7 separate regions of the Homo sapiens genome follow, and all the other regions are linked to region 7. Evidence: promoter capture Hi-C in 16 types of primary human blood cells and fetal thymus (Javierre and others, 2016). All regions are on one chromosome and are shown on one strand. Each heading gives the region's core, a stretch centred on a gene start or on the middle of the fragment in contact. The rest is flanking DNA. Distances are from core to core; before and after follow the strand shown. Region 1 overlaps LOC124903082 (a long non-coding RNA gene). Region 2 overlaps LOC105370003 (a long non-coding RNA gene). Region 3 overlaps LOC105370003 (a long non-coding RNA gene). Region 4 overlaps LOC105370003 (a long non-coding RNA gene). Region 5 overlaps LOC105370003 (a long non-coding RNA gene). Region 6 overlaps LOC105370003 (a long non-coding RNA gene). Region 7 holds the start of TBX3 (T-box transcription factor 3).

Evidence for each region. The method cuts DNA at HindIII sites, captures the fragments that hold promoters and counts their contacts. A CHiCAGO score of 5 or more calls a contact.
Region 1: a contact is called between a fragment that was not itself captured here and the fragment with the promoter of TBX3 in region 7, in 1 of 17 cell types (endothelial precursors). The highest score is 7.1, in endothelial precursors.
Region 2: a contact is called between a fragment that was not itself captured here and the fragment with the promoter of TBX3 in region 7, in 1 of 17 cell types (endothelial precursors). The highest score is 6.6, in endothelial precursors.
Region 3: a contact is called between a fragment that was not itself captured here and the fragment with the promoter of TBX3 in region 7, in 1 of 17 cell types (endothelial precursors). The highest score is 6.1, in endothelial precursors.
Region 4: a contact is called between a fragment that was not itself captured here and the fragment with the promoter of TBX3 in region 7, in 1 of 17 cell types (endothelial precursors). The highest score is 6.1, in endothelial precursors.
Region 5: a fragment that was not itself captured here is called in contact with the fragment with the promoter of TBX3 in region 7 in 1 of 17 cell types (endothelial precursors); the score reaches 7.1 in endothelial precursors.
Region 6: a contact is called between a fragment that was not itself captured here and the fragment with the promoter of TBX3 in region 7, in 1 of 17 cell types (endothelial precursors). The highest score is 6.3, in endothelial precursors.

Annotation. Positions count from the first base shown.
Region 1 is chr12:115,341,622-115,344,321 of GRCh38, forward strand. The region is part of intron 2 of LOC124903082 (a long non-coding RNA gene); the gene reads right to left. Among named protein-coding and RNA genes, the nearest start is that of LINC02463, 540 kb to the right of the region's middle. RefSeq lists an enhancer at 1-447. The HindIII fragment of the contact is 3,543 bases long and covers 1-2,700 here.
Region 2 is chr12:115,648,335-115,651,034 of GRCh38, forward strand. The region is part of intron 1 of LOC105370003 (a long non-coding RNA gene); the gene reads right to left. Among named protein-coding and RNA genes, the nearest start is that of LINC02463, 240 kb to the right of the region's middle. The HindIII fragment of the contact is 1,065 bases long and covers 837-1,901 here.
Region 3 is chr12:115,625,080-115,627,779 of GRCh38, forward strand. All of the region lies in intron 1 of LOC105370003 (a long non-coding RNA gene), which reads right to left. The region is part of intron 2 of LOC105370002 (a long non-coding RNA gene); the gene reads right to left. Among named protein-coding and RNA genes, the nearest start is that of LINC02463, 260 kb to the right of the region's middle. The HindIII fragment of the contact is 2,150 bases long and covers 290-2,439 here.
Region 4 is chr12:115,403,332-115,406,031 of GRCh38, forward strand. The region is part of intron 3 of LOC105370003 (a long non-coding RNA gene); the gene reads right to left. Among named protein-coding and RNA genes, the nearest start is that of LINC02463, 480 kb to the right of the region's middle. The HindIII fragment of the contact is 2,264 bases long and covers 274-2,537 here.
Region 5 is chr12:115,664,995-115,667,694 of GRCh38, forward strand. All of the region lies in intron 1 of LOC105370003 (a long non-coding RNA gene), which reads right to left. Among named protein-coding and RNA genes, the nearest start is that of LINC02463, 220 kb to the right of the region's middle. The HindIII fragment of the contact is 1,184 bases long and covers 729-1,912 here.
Region 6 is chr12:115,441,007-115,443,706 of GRCh38, forward strand. All of the region lies in intron 2 of LOC105370003 (a long non-coding RNA gene), which reads right to left. Among named protein-coding and RNA genes, the nearest start is that of LINC02463, 440 kb to the right of the region's middle. The HindIII fragment of the contact is 3,747 bases long and covers 1-2,700 here.
Region 7 is chr12:114,682,835-114,685,534 of GRCh38, forward strand. TBX3 (T-box transcription factor 3) reads right to left here and starts at 1,341. Exons shown (of 7, transcript NM_005996.4): 1 at 1-1,341. The coding sequence starts at 366. All of the region lies in intron 1 of TBX3-AS1 (TBX3 antisense RNA 1), which reads left to right. RefSeq lists a promoter at 1,343-1,852. The HindIII fragment of the contact is 4,535 bases long and covers 1-2,700 here.

The DNA.
Region 1 (2,700 bases), core at 63-2,562, 660 kb after region 7:
AGATCTGGCTCACACCCAGGGAGTGACAAAGCATGTCCAGAAAATCAGGGATTCCCCTTCTGCCAAGGAGGCGCGAGTGGAGACAGCCAATTCTCCATGGTCAGGAGGGGGATGTTTCAAAGCTCCAGGCCTCTGAGGTTGGCAGAACTGCATGTTGTTTTGGGAAACTGTGCATTGCAGCAATTGTGAGAGAACAGAACTGTCTTCGAGGCAAGAGAAATAACAGAGCTGAAATAGACCATGCAATAATGGTGAACTGTAATCTCAGGTTTCATTGGTGCCATGATCTTAATTATAAATAGTATTTGAAACCCATTTTTCTCCCTCTTTAATGATAACAACTAAGTTTGTTAAGTAGTTACTCTGTTTTAGGCACTGTCCTAAGGGAATTAGAATACTATAAGTATTTTGGACAACAATTTGATCCTCAGGACAACCCTTTTGATAGGATTATTGTGATCTTCACTGAAAATTGAAGAAACTGAGTCTCAGAGGCTAGACAAGGACTTTGTTACACAGTTAAGAGAGTGTGAATCCCAGGCTTTGTGAAAGATTAAAATAAGCACAAAATAAATGCATGTTACAAATCATTACTGAAAAGGAGCAAATGCATTTAACCTCAAAGTTAGCTCGCAGTTTCTGAACGTCAAGAATCTGGAAGCAGCTTAACTGCATGGTTCTGCTTCAGAGTCTCTCATGACATGGCAGTCAAGTAGTCAGATGGGCTGTCGTCTCATTTGAAGGCTTGACTGGGGGAAATTCATTTCAATGCTTATTCATGTGGCTGTTGGCAGGAAGTCTCAGATTCTCACTATGTAGGTCTCTCTTCAGGGCTGCTCCCAAAATAGCTCCCCCCACCTGCCCCCCACCCCGCCCCCCACCATGATCAGTTGAAAGACAGAGAGGAGAGAAGAGAGCAGGGAGGAGGGAGAAGGGAGGAAGAAAAAAGGAGAGCAGGAAAGGGGGGGATGGGGGAGAGATAATATACCTGCAATTTCTTTTGTTATCTAATCTCAGAGGTGAAACACCATCACTTCCGCTGTATGCCATTGGTGAGACCAACCCTGGTATAATGTGGGAGGGAACTACACAAGGATAGGACTATTAGAAACTGGTTACCATAAGAATACATCTCTCCGCTAGAAAATCTTTGTGGTCTTCACGTGAAACAACACACCAAGGACCTAGTATCCTTTATTTTTTTCTCTCCATCCATCACTCCGACCAATGTCAAATATATACAATTGGAGGGAACATTTCTTGCCAAAGAATGAGGAGCTTCTATGTTGATTCTGCATGGGAATATCACCCGATAAACTTTGTTCCTGTCAACTCAGTCTCCTTAACAAATAGGCAGGTAGCATTGTCTTCCCTTTTACCACCTTGAATCAAGGATGCTGGTTATTCTAACTCCAATTCCATCTCGAAGGTTAATTCTCTACCTTGCTCTGCCCTCTTTGTGATGCACACAGACTATGAAACTCATGTTCCCTTACCCCGGCTTTCAGTTGGGTTTGACCAATGATAAACACCAGCAGAAGACTGAGGGTGGCAAGAGAGAGAGCTTGGGTATCAATGCCTCTACTCCCTCTCTGCTTCTGTATTATATATCTGAAAGGGTTTGTGGCTCCCCATGTCTACATCACTCACTGGGTGACCTCACCTCCATGGCTCCAGCTTTCACTGGACTCCAAGGGTCCTTTTCCTCCCACTGCCCCTTGTGTTCCAGGGTTGGTGACAACTTCCTGCTGTTAGAAGTCCCTGATGGTGCTTCATCATCCATTTCTGGTTCTCCTAACTCAGCTCACAATTCTGTAAATAGCCCTTATGGAAATGTCTCTCAGTTAAACAGCTGAACGAATTTTTTTTTTTTCTGCTGGGATCCTGGCTCCATAGACAATGAAATGGGCTCTGACTCCCACACCTTTGTTTCTTCACACTTCAAGACGATCCTTTAAACATGTATAAGTGTACAGAAGGGCATAAGGCTCACTTTCGTAAACATGGGATTTGAGAAATCCCTCGAGACATATTATGGGGTATGAGGATTCACATGACCTAGGATTCACATGGCCCTGACCACCACATCAACCTCGCAGAGCCTTTTTGAATCATCAAAAGTTTTATGCATTTTAAATGTGGAATGCATGAACGTGGGCTTTAAGAGGATTTCCAGTGGATGATTACCTAGGGCACTGAAATGTGAGGAGCTTGTTGGCAGGAAGTCTCTTCCTCATCCCCCAAATCCCGCCTCCCTACCAAAACCAATCACAGTTTGCAATTTGAGTTATGTAACACTGTGTATGGCCTCCTCTTTATTATAATTTCCTCATAGGAATCTTTATTGTTTTTTCTTTCTGAGGAAAGAAGGTAGAGGAAACCTAAGTTTAAGAACATCCCTTCCTTAGACGAATAAAATGTAGTAGTCTTCTATTACTGATCGTGTCTAAGAGAAAAGAAAAATAGCAAAGCTGGCAATGATTTTGCAAATCACTCCCTCTTACATTCATTTATCCATTCACTTATACCTTCCGAGATCTGTACCTTGTGTTAGGGAGGTTCTGAGGGTGCACAAAGAAATCCGATGGGGTATCTTCCCTCAAGGAGCCCACAGTTAAGAGAAATTAAGCAGACAAGAGCAAAACAGTCAAAGTAAAGAAGAGCTTTTTGTCATTGTATTTGTTTGTTTGTTTTTTTAAA
Region 2 (2,700 bases), core at 119-2,618, 970 kb after region 7:
AACCATATGGAGCAGCAAGAGAAGAAGCAAGGGGTTTGTTCCAGCTGTCTTTTTAAGGACATTAACCATACAACACCACCACTTAAATTTCAGTGGGCAGAACATGGCCACACTTTGCTGGAAGGAAGTCTGGGAAATGTCTTCATTCCAGCTATCTATTGTCCAGCTAAAGATGGAGGTTCTGTTACTAAGACAGACAGAGAAAACAGGCAGGGCCACATTAACACCAATCTACCACAGGTGTTCAGCTATTCCACGTTGCCCCAAGCCAGGATATCTCTATAACCATTACACAAAAACAAACAGAGACCAAATTTAAGTTAAAGATTGCACAATGCACAATCAGGCAACTCTGTTTATTCATCCATCCATTTGTTCACTCATTCAACAAATATTTATGTAGCATCTGTTTTAAGCTGGGCACAGGGCAAGATACAAGATACAAGAACTGAAAAAGAATATGAAGCAAGAAATGAGTTGTCCTGCTTGATCCACACAGATGTAATGAGAATCCAGTGATAATGGGGTTGGTGTATAAACTGTTAATGGATGACGTTATTGGAGCCTGAATGTTGGTCCTCTAGCGCAAATGCCCTTGCTTTACCATGCAGGCCTTTACTGCTTTGTTTCTTATATAAATATACCCTCAAAGGACAAAACAGAGTTTCTAATCTCAAGAAAATGTGTGTATGTATACTTTAGAAGTAAAAAATTTTTAAAATTTTAAAAAGAGTTTCTAATCTCAAGAAAATGTGTGTATGTATGCTTTAGAAGTAAAAAAAAAAAAAGGCAATTTCAGTGAAAGAAAAAAGAATATGAAGTTTGAATTCTTCACAAGCTTACTCCTGAGGTTATTTTAAATGAAACAATGTATCACTTAATGAATAAGTATCATTACATGTACCATCATGTATCACAAGAAAGCACCAAGAATCCAAGAATAGAACAATATAGACCAGCAGTTCCAGTAAAGCCTGCTTTAGTCACAGATGTGAGGTTGCAGAACTCTTCCCAGGTCTTCAGACTGGGCCACCTAGAGCTCATCTTACCAAGTAAACTTCAGAGTGTGGCCTGCTCTGCCCCCTCCCCCAGTCATGTCCAAGGTCAGAATCCAGCCAGGGGCCTCAAACAGGCAGAAATATTTATGCCAACTCCAGAATACCAAACCTAAGAGACAGAGCTGATGCCACTTGAAAGGAATCAGGGCGGAATCTCCAGAGATTAAGAAAATGACAGTGACCAAGTTGCAAAGGGGAAGGGGGTGAGAACAAGTGGAGATTAAAGCAGCCGGGCCATTTGTTATTTTGATTTATGCTTTTTTTTATTTTAAAGGGAATTAAAGAAGATGAATTAAGACTTCATTAGATGCCGACAACTTCAGGAAGATTAATCCATCTTCCATTTGCATTAAGACTCACAATCTCTCCAATCTCTCCAGGCCTAGGGTGAAGGAAAGGGAAAGCTATGGATACGTTTCTGTCTTCCCCACCCTGCACCCCCTACCTACCTCTCCCCTCTGGCCACTTTCCCTTTCATGTCTTTGTTTGACATATAGGAAAGAATCATGAGGTGTTGAGTATCATTAACTTCCAAACACCTATGAAATCAGTAGGGAAGTGCAAACATTGTGGACCCCGACCGTCTCTGCAAATGATCTATCCTAAAGTCCTCCCCTTTGGAGATGAAAAGAAATAGTTTGGCAGACTGACAGTCTCGGGGAGAGAGGCCTGAATGAACAGGCAGGGGACACGCAGAATAAATGAAAATATGATTGACTTCTTACCTCATTCCGGCTCACACATGGTTCTGAGCATTTAATAAACAGGTTGACACTCCGAGTTCCCCTCATTAGGTGAATGTGGAGACCCCGACTGTTATAAATCAGAAGGGCAGGTTATCAAAGCTTGTGATCTTTAACTGTGTCAGGGCGCCCTCGTGTCTGCTGAAATGGAGGCAGCAACCTGCAAGCTGCAAAGAATTAGCCACTATACCACGATTTAATACACATGCACCCAGGAGGAGGTGGGAGGCTGGCGCTACAGGCAGTTTTTCCAGGTACCCAGCACATGTGGCTGGCCCTCGGGCACAGTTTACCTGGGGCTGAATGGTACCTGGGGATAAAGGCGAGGGATGACCCTGTGATGGATCAATAAATAGACCTGTGTTTAGTTAGACTAGGATCAATGGAGGAAAAATCACTATGGAATGTTAGAATTCCCAAGCCAGAATGGGCTTTAGGAAAACCCTCTCATCTGGTGATTTCCCAGCCTAACTTCACATCAAAATCTAATGGGGCTGGGCGCCATGGTGGCTCATGCCTATAATCCCAGCACTTTGGGAGGCCTAGCTGGGTGGATCACCTGAGGTTAGGAGTTCGAGACCAGCCTGGCCAACATGGTGAAACCGTGTCTCTACAGAAAGTACAAAAATTAGTTGGGCATGGTGACAGGTGCCTGTAATCCCAGCTGCTCAGGAGGCTGAGGCAAGAGAACCGCTTGAACTCAGGAGGCACAGGCTGCAGTGAGCCCAGATCACACCACTGCACTCCAGCCTAGGTGACAGAGCAAGACTCTGTCTCAAAAAATATATACATATATATGTATTTTATATATATGTATTATATATATGTGTATATATGTGTATGTATATATATATGTATGTGTATATATATGTGTGTGTATATATATATAATGGAAAACT
Region 3 (2,700 bases), core at 115-2,614, 940 kb after region 7:
TTCCCCACCCCTGCTCTGCCACCAAGCAAGCAACAAACTTGTTTTGAGTTAAGCCATGGACATTTTGAAGATTTTTGTTGTGGTGGTGGTTTTAGCAACTAGTCTATCCTGAGTAATAGAGAGGACAAAATTGTCCCAGAGTGAGAAGAAGAACAAATCGTTAGTTTCTGTAGACAGCCATTGTCATATTCTAGGAAACCAGAAACCATGTCAGAAGACACTCAAACAGCCCTGTGGAGAGGCCCATGTAGTGAGCAACTGAGGTCTCCTGCCAACAGCCATGGGAGTAAGCTTGGAAACAGATGCTTCAGCCTCAGTCAAGCCTTCAGATGAGATCACAGTCCTGGCCGACATCTTGACTGCAACTTCATGAGAGAACCTGCCAGATCCACCCAACTACTCCTTATCTGAAACCCTACCCCACTGTAAAATAGTAGGTATTTGTTGCTTTAAGTCACTAAGTTTTGGGATGACATGTTATGCAAAAGTAGATAACCGATACACTGCATTGTGGAGCAGGTTCCCACAGTGGCCAACTGGAAACTGAATCCTTTGGAGAACTCTGAAAGGCTGCATAGAACATGCTTTAAAGTTACGTTCCCTGAGTGGGGAAGAAGACAAGTATTTATTCTCTAACACCCATCCACTGTTGATAAAGGACTGCTCCTGGGGTGTTGATTCCCCAGCATTTCTACCCTGCCCTTCACTGAGTCCAAGAGAAAGCCCTCAGATGGAGAGTCTCAGGTGTTTGCATTGGCACCATAGGCATGTACTTGACAAGTGCAAAGAGAATATTGGTGAGGTATAGCAAGATCTGATACAGTATCATGTGTCCCAGATTTTCCAGATGAAATCAAATTCCCAAATTTCTTCTTTTTCCATAAAGGTGAGGCACTAAAGCTGTATAAGTAAAGAGGCTTCTTTTATGTACCTTTTGAAGATGTTTCATTAAAAATAAACCAGCAAATGAGAAGAATCCAGGGCTGGGAAGAGTGGAAGGTTTTTTGTTTGCTAATTCTCTTAATAAACTTACTAAGTAGTGCCATAAAAGCAGAATACAAAATAGCACCTTATACTGACATTGAATGTGCCACAGTACAATTAAAAAAATGGGGCCTTGCAAAATGGCATTTTTATATTGCCTCATAAAATATCTAATATCGAACTTTGTAAATTACATCAATGCCTTTGAACAAACATTGAGTTCTTTTTAATAAATAAAACGTTCAAAATTATTTCCTGGAAGTGCATTTTAGACATTAATAACTGGCTTCAAATGAAATTCTGTTTCACAGCGATAAGCAAATTTAATTGCTGCAAACTAAAACAGTCTGTAAGGCTTACCTGCTCCAGAAAGGAAACAAAATATTGAGCTAATGTAACCATCAAGATATATAACCTGCTACTCTTTGAATAAACCAAATTCCATCCCTAAACACAGAGAGCTCAGAAATTCAGACCCAAGGACATAAATATAAGGTATTTCCTGGAATTAGTTTCATATGTTTTATATATTGCAGTTATCAATTGATCTGACACAATATCTGAGCCAGTTTAAAAATTACATATTGTGCATCAGAAAAATATACATTTTCATGACATCTGGTACCCTGTGTTATAAAAGTATATACTCATTTATTTTAACTAAAAAAAGCACTATTTCCACATCATTAAAAATAATAGTAAGTTCAGTAGTATAAATCTCCATTCCATTTCTTACACCAGAGGTCAGTAAACTCCAGCCTGAGAGGCCAAGTCCAGTCCACCACTTACTTTCATATGTCCACAATCTAAGATTGGTTTTACATTTTTAAATGGTGGGAGGAGTTCAAAAGAAGAAGAGTATTTGGTGATATGTAAAAATTATAGGAAATTCAAATTTGGGTGTCCATAGATAAAATTTGATTGGCACTCAGCCATGTCCATTTACTTACGTATCATCTATGGCTGCCTTCACACTACAATCACAAAGCTAAGTAGTTGTGACAAAGATCTTATGACCTGCAAAGCCTAAAATATTTACTATCTGGTCCTTCACAGAAAAAGTTTGTTGACCTTTACTCCACACCACCCCTATCTCCTCTCTAAGGAGTTAGGAACTCTCTAAGGGAAGCTGTTAGGAACTCAAAATACTTAAAAGGGTAAACAGCAGTATTGGTTTTAGCCACCATTTACTACCTCAGGGTCTCCTTGAAGCCTGCAGTGGCCTAAGGAAGAAGATAGGAATGGCCATGGGATAAACTATATCCATGGAAACCCCCAACCTGAGTTATTTACAATCAGACAAGCATAATGTGTCTTTTCTTTCTCCCCAGAGTTGATGTGTCTGACTGAGCAAACTACATAAATTACTTTGACTATCAACTTCATTTAAGCCTCTGGAGATACAGATATCAACAAGCAGGAAGAATAAACATGGCATTAATAGGTAGGGTGGGAAGCTTGTACAATGCAAATCCTTTGGCCTTCACTGTTTATTACAATCAGATTTCTAAGCTTGATAGAGCTAGTTTGGCCCTAATTCACCTGAGATCACTTTTTGAAATGATGCTATTCAACTTTCTTTCAAAAAACTTTATTTTTTAAGTTAGAAAACCTCTTAGAGTTTATTATTGAAAATGTACAAGACAGCTGGGCGTGGTGGCTCATGCCTGTAATGCCAGCACTTTGGGAGGCCGAGGCAGGCAGATCACAAGGTCA
Region 4 (2,700 bases), core at 156-2,655, 720 kb after region 7:
CCTCTTTCCAGCATCACATCTCCTTCTCTGACTCTGACACTTCTGCTTCTCTCTTATCCTCTTCCTATCTCAAGGTTCTTATCTTCATCACACACACAAAGGCTCTTTTGTCATGTAAGATAACACAGTCACAGGTTTCGGGGATTAGGATGTGGACATAGTTGGGGGCCATTTTCGACCCACTATGTCTTATTTCCATTGGTGAATCCTGGTGGAATACTTTGCTCTAGACAGTGCTAGGGTATATACAGATCCTCTAAGAGGTCATCTTAAAGCTTTGACTTCAGGAGTCCTGAGAAATATCTTCCTAAAACTAAAAACTCCCCCAGAGACCAATTGATTTGATTTAAATCATGTGGCTGATTGTTTTCCGAACACAACAATATTTTCCATTCTATATGCTCTTCTACAATATGACCTTGCACCCTCCCATCCAGCGGTTGGGGTTTGTGTTCCCATCCTTTAGACCTGGGTGGGCTGTGACTGTTTCGACCAGTAGAGTCTAATAGAGTATGGCAGAAATTATATTGTGTAACTTCTAAGGTTTTGACCAGTAGAGTCTAATAGAGTATGGCAAAAGTTATATTGTGCAACTTCATAAAAAGCAATACCGCTTCTGCCCTGTCCACTAAGACACTTATGCTAGAACCTCAAAACACCATGTAAGAGTTCCAACTAACCCTGAGGCTGCCACACTAAGAGGAAGCCCAGGCCACATGGAGAGGCCATATGTAAGTGCTAAGCGATGGCATTTTTAAGTGATCCCAGTTCCTGTAAGTAAATCTGCCTTGCAGATTTCTGTAGCAGAGAATTCCAAGCAGAGGGGGCTGTAGTGCAAAGGTCACGAGGTTGGAGTGAGCTGTTCGTTTTGAACAGAGGAGTGCCATGGTCTGGTTTAGGATTTAACAGGTCCTGGGAGCTGGGATCACCTAGAAATCCCTTCGCTTAGCACCTACATATCCCAGCCATTGAATTATGTCCAGATTAGACCTTAGACATCTTGGAGCAGAGAACACCTGTCTGCACCTTCTATCAAAACTTCTGAGTCACAGAATCTGTTACCTAATGAAATGGTTGTTTATACCATTAAGTTTTTGGACACTTTGTTACACAGCAAAGATAACTGGAACAAAGTGGATCTCTTTGGAATGCAAATGTCTATCAGTATGAGAAATATAAACAATCAGAATTGCAGAGTATATATTCACTTGTTTATTTATTCACTTACTCTCTTACATCCCCGTTTATGAACACACGCATGCTCTCCTAATTTATTCACGTACTTATCCAAAAGCATGATAAATTCTCACTATGAACAGAGATACCCTCTGAGAGTTCACTTGGCAATGGGGATTCATTCATTCATTTCATAGATATTTATTGCCTGGGAAGTGTTCCTCAGAGATGTATCAAAATAGGAACAGACTTTCTTTCCTGCTTTGGTTGGAAAAATCCCAGGGAAGGCACCTCATTGGCTCTGTTGGATGGTGTGTCCAATGCTGTACCCATCACCCAGCCCAAGAGGGTGGGGAGCTAGCATGGACAGCCTCTATTCAAACCATATGTTTAGAGAGGAGGCAGGAGCAATTTATCAAAGGATCACCAGTCCCTGAAGAAGTGAGGGCGCTGCCAGGTCAAACAACGGCTGTCCCCTACGAAAGACCTGCCTTGCCTGTTCTCCATTGACATCATGCACCACCTTCGGCAGCTACTAGTGTTTATCCATCTGCTTTGGCTTTAACTACCAAACTCTAGAGGCATTTCTAATACTCGAAGCAGCAACTCGGATTTTTAAAAGCTGCTGCTTGTATCATTTACCGTAAGATCAGCCAGGCTGTAAAACAGCATCCGAGGCTTCCCAGAGGATGAGGGAGGACCAGAGGTAAAGAAACTCTTATTTCCCTAGGCAAGTCAAAATGTTAACCCTCTGATGACCCAACTCTCTGGTGCACCTCTGCTCTGCAGATTACATGAAAAGAAACCTATTCTATATCTCAGTCCAATGACATCATGGGAAATACCAGGAATTTTTTGGCTGCACACAAAATTCCTGTGAGATTCTTGGAAAATCTTACACAAAACTGTGAGTAACAGGGACTTAGTAACCTCAAGTCATCTTAATCAACACCAGGCGATAAAAGGAGAATATATTTTGAAACCAGGCAGATCTATATTTGAATCTCCTTGTTCTGCTATTTATCAGCTATGTGAACTTGGGCAAGTTACTTTTCTCTAAGGCTCACTCTTTCCATCTTTAAAATGGGCATTATGATGCTCACTTCAACAGTTTCCAAGGGCTGATATGAAAGAATTAAATCAGTTAATGGATGGAAATGTGTGTCACAAGGTCTTGCACGCATCTCGGTTATTATGATTGTGTTGTTGCTATCACTTTTGCTAAGTCATAAAGCTGCACGTCTTTTCTGACATGGGATTTAGGGGTATCCCAGGAACAGAAAAGAAGGCTGTATGATGCGAGAAAAATCAAAGAACAAAATGATATATTGTATATCTAAATATGGAAGTAAAAACAATAAAGCTTCTAGAAAACACTATAGGAGAGTTTTTTTTTTTAATTTTTATTCAGGCAGGGAATGATTTCTTAAACAAAAACAAAAGACAGTCCCCAAAAATCAAATTTAAAGGAAATATATGTGTGTGTGTGTGTGTGTGTGTGTGTGTGTGTGTGTGTGTGTATGT
Region 5 (2,700 bases), core at 71-2,570, 980 kb after region 7:
AAAACAGGATCTCAAAGAAATATTTTCACACCCATGTTCACTGCATTATTACTCACAGTAGCACAGAGGTGGAAACATTAATGAATAATTTGATAAAGTGTGGTATATACATACAATGAAATATCATTCAACCTTTAAAAAGAAAGAAATCCTGCCATATGCTACAACATGGATGAAGCTTGAGGACATTATGCTGAGTGAAATAAGCCAGGCACAGAAGGACAAATGTTTCATTATTTCACTTATAGGCAGTATATAAAATAGTCCACCTCATAGAAGCAGAAAGTCAAATGGGGAATGCTAGGGGCTGAGATGAGGGAGAAATGAGGAGTTATTGTTCAAAAGGTAGAGTTCTGGTTATGCAAATTTAAAAAGTTCTAGAGATCTGCTTCACAACAATGTACATCCTTTAACCATACTATACTGTACACTTCAAAATTTGTTAAGAGCATAGATAATGTAGGGTTTTTTTAAACCACAATTTAAAAAAGAAAAAAAAATTGCTAAGCCCATTACCAGGTCACCAAACTGAGTATTGTTCCATCTCATAATTTCAACCCATGTTGAAATTTTTCTGGTCCTTGAGAACACCCATGTTGGTCTCACCACTGGGTATCAGGATTTTGACAATGGTGTTAGGATTCACTGGGCTCCCTCTTCATCAAGGGTGCACAAACTCATCTTTCAGGGAATAATTCATTCCACAGGAGGGGACACCAATGGGTAGAAGCTTATGTGAAAGTATGAAAATTGACTCCCAGCTTCTGCTCTAAGTTGGAACCAAGCTGCCTAATAAAAGGAAGCGCTAGACTTTCACCTCAGCCTTTTCATGATGTTTCATGTTGGCCAGGAACACAGGCTCTGGGCTGTGGAATCGAGGGCGAGGCATGGCTTTCTGCTTCCAAACTATGTGACCTGAGCAAGTGACTTCACCTTGCTAAACCTCAGTTTCCTCATCTGTCAAACAATGACAATAATAACTACCATACAGGACAGTTGGGGACATTCAGTGACGTGATGTAAACAAGGCATTTAACACATCTGGTAGGCAATCACTAATCACTAATCAGGTTGCTAATCATTGTTGGCTGCAGGCTGCAACTATTGTGATTATCATGCTATCCTGTGGTTGAATATGTTTTACACAACTCTAGGCTGTCATAGCTTATGCATTCTGTGTCCAAGGCAGACACTGAAAGTGATGCCCATAATGTATCAAAGGGTTTAAACTGACTTCTGCTAGTATGAGTCTGTGGCTCTGAGCAATTTGCATAGCATTGTCCTTCAGGAACAAGTTCCAGAGCCAGGAGTAGAGGTGACCACTTTTTAATAGTTCATCCAACAATATTTACTGAGCCTGTGGTGCAGCAGTGAGTGCCTCTTAAGATGGAACATGACTTCCTCACTTTAGTGCAGTCCCCAATCCAGCCCAGCATACTTATTCTCCACTTGCCTGTCTACTATAAGCATTTTCAATGACTTCTGACCTAAGTTGTATTTTCTTCAATGCTTTTAAAGAGGTATGCTTTTCCCCAAATCCTTGAATAATACACATAAATGATGCTTCATGGTTTTATGTATTCCTGGTATTCTATATACACCCACTGGGAGTTCACATATCTCAGTTTGAAGGCGCAGCTAAAGGCAATTTTCTGTCTGCACAATTGACTCTGATAAGAGATACATGGTACTCTTCCTTCTAGGGAATACAAAGGAATCCCAATTTTCAACAACAGAAAAGAATTCAAGGGACTGTCGTTTCCCAGGTCACTGTAAGAAAGAGTTTTAAAACTATAAAGCTAATCCTCACCCCAAAAAAATCTCAAATCAGGTGATTTTTAAAATTTCAAATCCATCCTAAACATGTGTCAACTCTTTACTATCAGTCCACTCCTAAATGATGACAAAGTAAAGCTTTCAACTTTTAATGGCTTTTTGTTTTTGATATTCCTTTTCTTTCTCCTTAACCCAAATCACATCTTGCTTGGCAAAGACTTTTTATTATTTTTTATTTTCTTGATTCATAGGTCCTTAATGAAAGCAAAATTCAACCTTATATTGGTCTTGTATGAATTAGGGACCATGTAAACAGTACTTAACAGTTCTAATTGAAGGTCAGTAAATCCCCAAGAGATTAAATGAATCCTGCAGGGAGCCGTGTAAATCTCCCTCTCTTTTATGGCAGAACAGCCAAGCCCCCAGACTGCCTTGTGCAAGGCTTAATAAATATGGTATGCATCTAATCAAAACCATTTTGCACCCAAAGAGGTTAGGGGTGTAAATCACAATTACTCTTGGCACTAAACCCTTGGCCCAGAGAGGCCCAAGGTTGCCAAATACCATCAGGAGCTGACTTCTAGGACTTAGCTAGCTGTCTGGCATGGGTTTCCTGAGTGTCCAGCCTGCTTCTCAGCAGGGGAATCCAGATGGGAGTATAAAACCTGAAAAGGATAGTAATTTCAAATGACCCTCTTGCTCTCTCTGGTTTCTTTACTCCTTGCCAGCTCTGGCTTGATCAAAAAGAAATTATAAATTCATAGATGTCAATGCCTAGATCTGCCCTTGAAGTGCCATGAATTCATTCATCATGTCCAGACATGCACCATTTTAAAAGAAAATGGTGTAAAGTCCGAAGTACTTAGCTGTAAAAATCCCAAGTGAAGAGCACACTTAAACTCATGAATGTCAAGAAGGGGACCT
Region 6 (2,700 bases), core at 32-2,531, 760 kb after region 7:
GACATTCCTTATAAATATCAATTATCACTGTTCCGAAGGAGGTATTGCCTTCTTAAAGATGAAGAAATAGGCTTAGAGGGGTGACATGAATTGCCCAGATTCACAACAGCTAGGAAGCTGTCCATCTAAGAATAAAATCTGAGCTTATTCCTTGTCACTGGGCTCACATTCAAAGCCCATGAGACTTCACAAATCAACATGTAAAACTATAAGTATTAACACTTCTTAAAATTCTGGACATTGGAATTGTTGGGAACTGTGATGGTTAATACTGCATGTCAACTTGATTGGATTGAAGGATGCAAAAGTATTGATCCTGGGCGTGGTCTGTGAGGGTGCTGCCAAGGGAGATTCATATTTGAGACAGTGGGCAGGGAAAGGCAGACCCACCCTTAATCTGGGTGGGCACCATCTAATCAGCTGCCAGCATGGCTAGAATATAAAACAGGCAGAAAAACGTGAAAAGACGAGACGGGCCTAGCCTCCCAGCTTACATCTTTCTCCCGTGCTGGATGCTTCCTGCCCTCAAACATCGGACTCCAAGTTCTTCAGTTTTGGGACTCAGACTGGCTCTCCTTCCTCCTCAGATTGCAGATGACCTATTTTGGGATCCTGTGATCATGTGAGTTAATACTTAATAAATTCCTATATATATGTAACTAATAGGATATATATATATCTAGTTAGTTCTGTCCCTCTAACTAGTATATATCTAGTTAGTTCTGTCCCTCTAGAGAACTGACTAGTCAGTTCTGTCCTCTCTGTCTCTCTCTCTCTCTCTCTCTCTCTCTCTCTCTCTCTCTCTCTCTCTCTCTATATATATATATATATATATATATATACACATACACACACATATGTAGATATCCTATTAGTTCTGTCCCTCTAGAGTTCCTGATTAATACAGGAACTATCATTATATTTGTCCTTTATTTTTCAAATTTATCAAAAGGAAAAACTTGTGGCAGTAGCCTTGCAGCTAATAAAAACAACAGCAGTGCATACCAGGTATTTGAATGACTATATGACATGCAATACTTCTCTCAATGTTCAGACCCATGCTATGAAGTCAAGGCTACTGTTGTTCACATTTTACAAATTAAAAAATCAAGACTCAAAAAGATCTGACACTAGAAAGTGGCAGGGCCACAATTTAAGGTGAGATCGATCTGACTCCAAAGCCCTCAGGGAACACAGCATGGTTTTTAGTGACTGTCCACACTGTGTGCTTCGTTCTCCTTGGGCTGAAGTCATGGAGACAATTGCAACCAGCAGGAAGAGCATGGGCAAGATACCACCACCTGTGCCCATTGCCTTTCTTTCCTGCAGAATCACAGAGCTTTTATGCAGCACCAGCCAAGAATCCCAGGCTCTCAACTTGGTCTTGGAAAGAGAACAGGCTTTTCCCCAACCCTTTCAGATCTACGATGCTTCTGAAACCTCAGGCACCGAGGAAGGTCACTTGGACAAAGCTATCCACCAAGCCCTTACAAAAAAGGGTGCACCAGCATTCACGTTGCAGCAGACAGCAATCATCTTAAGCTGTTGCAAGATCAAATTGCTCTCCTGCTTAGAGCATCTCCTTTTTTTTTCATCAGATCCAAACTCTTTATGCAGCCCCTGCTGATTTGCCCACCCCAAAATTCCCACCCCTGTCTCCCTTCCTGGTCATCCCAGCCTTCCAGGTGCTGCCCGAACACCCCGCACTCTCCGTGGGCCTTTGTGCTGACTGTCCACTCTGTCTGAAACACTGTTCTCCCCATTCTCCACTGGTTCATTTCCTTCTTAGGTCTGATCAGGTCAGTAGAAGGGAACCACATAAGGTTTCAGAACAGAAGATGCCACAGGGGAAAAGACTCACTTTTACTGAGTACCTACAATAGAGCTGGCAACATATGGCATTTAATTCAATCCTCTCAACCACCTTTTTCGGTCGTTTTACAGAGAAGAAAACTGAAGTCTAAAGAGGCTTTGTCCTTGCCCAGGGCCAGACAATTTCCAAAGGTGGAGGTGAGATTTAAACCTCTGCTCATGGTCCGCCCTGTTCCTTTTTCCTCTCCATGCCCTTGGTCAAGGCCCTTTGAGTCATGAGCTTGGAAAACTGATGAAAACTCAGCTCTGGGGCAATTCAATTGTCTGCTTGGAGGCTGGCAGCCTTCACAAAGCATCACTAACCTCCCAGGAGGCAGAATACACCAAGGGTTTGAACTTCTCGTGCAGCTAGCCAATTTGCTGGAGAATAAAAGAGCAAAAGCACCTAGGAGCATAAAATCAACCAGTAAATCTAGGGATTAAAAGCCTCTTAGCAACCCTGCTACCTGTAATTACAGCCCCCAACAAAGAGGAACCCTGGCAGATGGAGGATAAGGAAGAATCCAACCAGTAACTGGCATGGGAGTCTTGCCAAGATGGTTTATGGCCCTACCTTGTGTCTTCCCAAACAACCTTCTGCCTGATCTCTATCAACCTCAGGCCCCAAGGGCAGCTGTGCTCCCATGTTATCTACAGATCTGCAGCACGGGGCTCAAGAACCAAACAAGGCTTAAATTCCCACTCAGGACTATTTGGTGGATTAAGGTGAGACTCCCAGACATCACTTGGGGGCCTGAAGGGAAGTCCACAGAGCACAGAAAGTGTGTGATCTTTGATGGAATTGTCATCTCACCTCAACAAGCCCAAGAATGCCACCTAGCAAGAGAG
Region 7 (2,700 bases), core at 91-2,590:
CTCGGTGCCCCGCTTGTGAAACTGATCCCAAAGTTCTTTAGCCTCCAGGTGCACCTTGGGGTCGTCCTCCACCTCTTCTTCGGGCTCCATGGTCTTCAAAGGCCTCAGATGCGCCTGGGGCCCCAGGGAGGAGAACGGGATGCCGGTCTCGGCCGCCCCCACCAATTGATCCATGATCGGCTTGGCCAGGGCGCCCGGCAGCGAGAGCGCCGCCGCGCCGTTGGGAGGCAGCGTCAGCGCGGGGAAGAACGGCGGCTGGTGACCCAGCACCGCGCTCATGGCGAAGTCCGGCGCCCGGTGAGGTAGGAACGGATGGTAGGCCATGCTTGTCCCAGGAATGACCGGATCTCTCATGGAGAGGCTCATCCACTCCAGGCGGGGCGCTGGGCTCCAGCCGGGGACAAGTCCGCAGCTGCTGTGTTTTGTTGTTTTTTTGTTGTTGTTTAACAGCAGCACATAATTCAAAAGGGGGGAAAAAGCAAAACAAAAAAGAAAGAAAAAAGAAAAGGAGGCAGAAATCACAACTAATGCACTTCAAAGGGAGGAGGGGAAGTGTCTTTTGGAGAATGGGAGGCCGCTTTTAAAGAGGGCAAGGCGAAAAATCAGCAAACATAGTCGCGCGGGTGACCGTCCTTGTGCCTTGCGTTTTTAAAAAGCCGCTCCTGAACGTCGGTTTCAGAAGCGAGAGGAGCGAGCAGGGTCTCGACTCGCGCCCGAGCCCTGCCGCTGAGCTCGAAATAGACACTCCAGCCCTGCGTCCCAGGAATCTCTCTCCAGCCCCTAGGTCTTTTGTTGCAAATGTGAAAGGTTCTCCTAGAAGACTTTTTACCTTTCTTTTTCTTCTTCCCCCGCCCCCTATCTGTCTTCCTCTCCCTCTTTCTCGCTGGTGGCGTCTGCAGCTGTGCTAGACCCGGCTTTAACAGGGAGCGAGAGAGCGGAAAAAGTCTCTCTCCTTTAAAAAAAAAAAAATCTGATTTAAACCCCCTTCTACCAGCGCTATCAAAACTTGAATTGCAAACTGGCTTCCGTTCGCCGCCCTCCTCCTCCTTCCTCTGCTCCGAGCCTCCGGAGGGTGTCTCGGTTTCAATCCAAATCTTGCTGGGCTCTTCTCCCGTGCCTCTCTCTCTTCCTTGTCCTAAAACGTGAGCGAATTCGCTTCCTAAATCTGTGTCCAGGCGCGCAGGGCAGGGAGGATTTAGAGGGGGAAAAAATGGAACAGAGGGAAAGAGAGGGAGGGGAGAGAGAGAGAGAGAGAGAGAGACGGAGTCGGAGAGGGAGGGAGCGAGAGAAAGCGAGAGCTCCTCGCCACCCTCCGCCGCCTCTAGAATTCACCGGGCGTCTGCTCGGCGGCTCTAGAAGGTCGGGCTGCGCTGTGGGCTGCGGGGAGCCGGAGGCCTCTTGATTGGCTCTTTGACGCTTTCGGACCAATTGTGTTGCTGCATAGGCGTGGTTTTCACAGGTCGAGTGCTGGGGGATAGAGCTGAGTTATAAAAAGAAGGTGTCGGAAACTGTAACGTCGCAGCGCCGCATCGGTACTACTGCCTGTCCTGTGAATATGTCAACATGATCAGAGGGCGGGCGGGAGCCACTGGGGAGCGCGCGCGCACAGAGTCGCCTCTAGGTGGCTTATCGAGAGATCGCTGCAGCCCCTGAGCTCGCTCGCTCGCTCTGGTTCAGCCCACGTCTGAAATGCCTCAGTCATCCAGCCGGGGATCGAGGGAGGAGGCAGGGCCAAGGAGGAAGGGGGAGGGAGAGAGGGAGGGAGCCAGCGAGCAGGCGAGCCGGGCGGGGAAGGCGGAGAGCGCGCCCGGGCGCCGGGCAGGGGCGCTCGCCTCTCTTGCACTCCGCTCGCCTCTCCGACCGCCGCGGCCGGTTCTCTCTCCAGCTCTCCTTCTTCTCCCCGCCCCGGGCGAGCCGGGCGGGTGGCCGAGCCTCCCCGCGAGCTGCCATCCGGCCACTCGGTTCTACAAAAGCCGGCGGCAGCCGAGAAGCGAGCGCCGAGACTCCAGGCTTGCGTGCTCTCCAGCCCCACGTGGAGCCAAGCTCCGCCCGGCCGCCGCTGAAGGGCTCCCGAGCTCGGGTGTCTCGGTGCTGGTCTCCCCTGCGTCTGGGCTGGGGGAGCACAAGGATGCGGCCATATCTCAGCACACGCATGTGTGGGCTTCCTCTCCACTGCGCCCCACCCGCAGCCATGTGCGGGTACCCAAACACCCCCGGTGTATCTGTACTCGAACACGCGCCAACACACTGGGACTGAAACACACACCGAAAAACACGTACACACAAACACGTACACAGCCTGCGCGGCTGGCCCTGCCTGAGCTCCTGGGGAAGATGGATTTGGGATTTTTATGAAATGCATTTACCAGCCCTTTTGGATCTCGTCTTTCATTTGCATGCGGGCCCCCATATTCCACCTGGATGTGGGTGTGGGTGTAGAGAAGAGAATGGAGGATCTGGACAAAGCGAGCACAGCGAGAGACTGGGTTCTGAGCCTGTCCCCTCCAAGCCGCTGCCCTCACCTCGAGGCCCGGCTGGGTGCACAGCACAGGGTAAGGGGTGGGCGATTGGGTTGGGGGAGGCGCGCCAGCCTGGTATCTTCTCTAGGCATCGCACTTATCTCTCGGTGCCTCAGTTCTTTCTCCACCCCGGGGACTTAATCTGGCCAGAAGTCGGGGAGGGAGGGTGAATTTGTAAAAC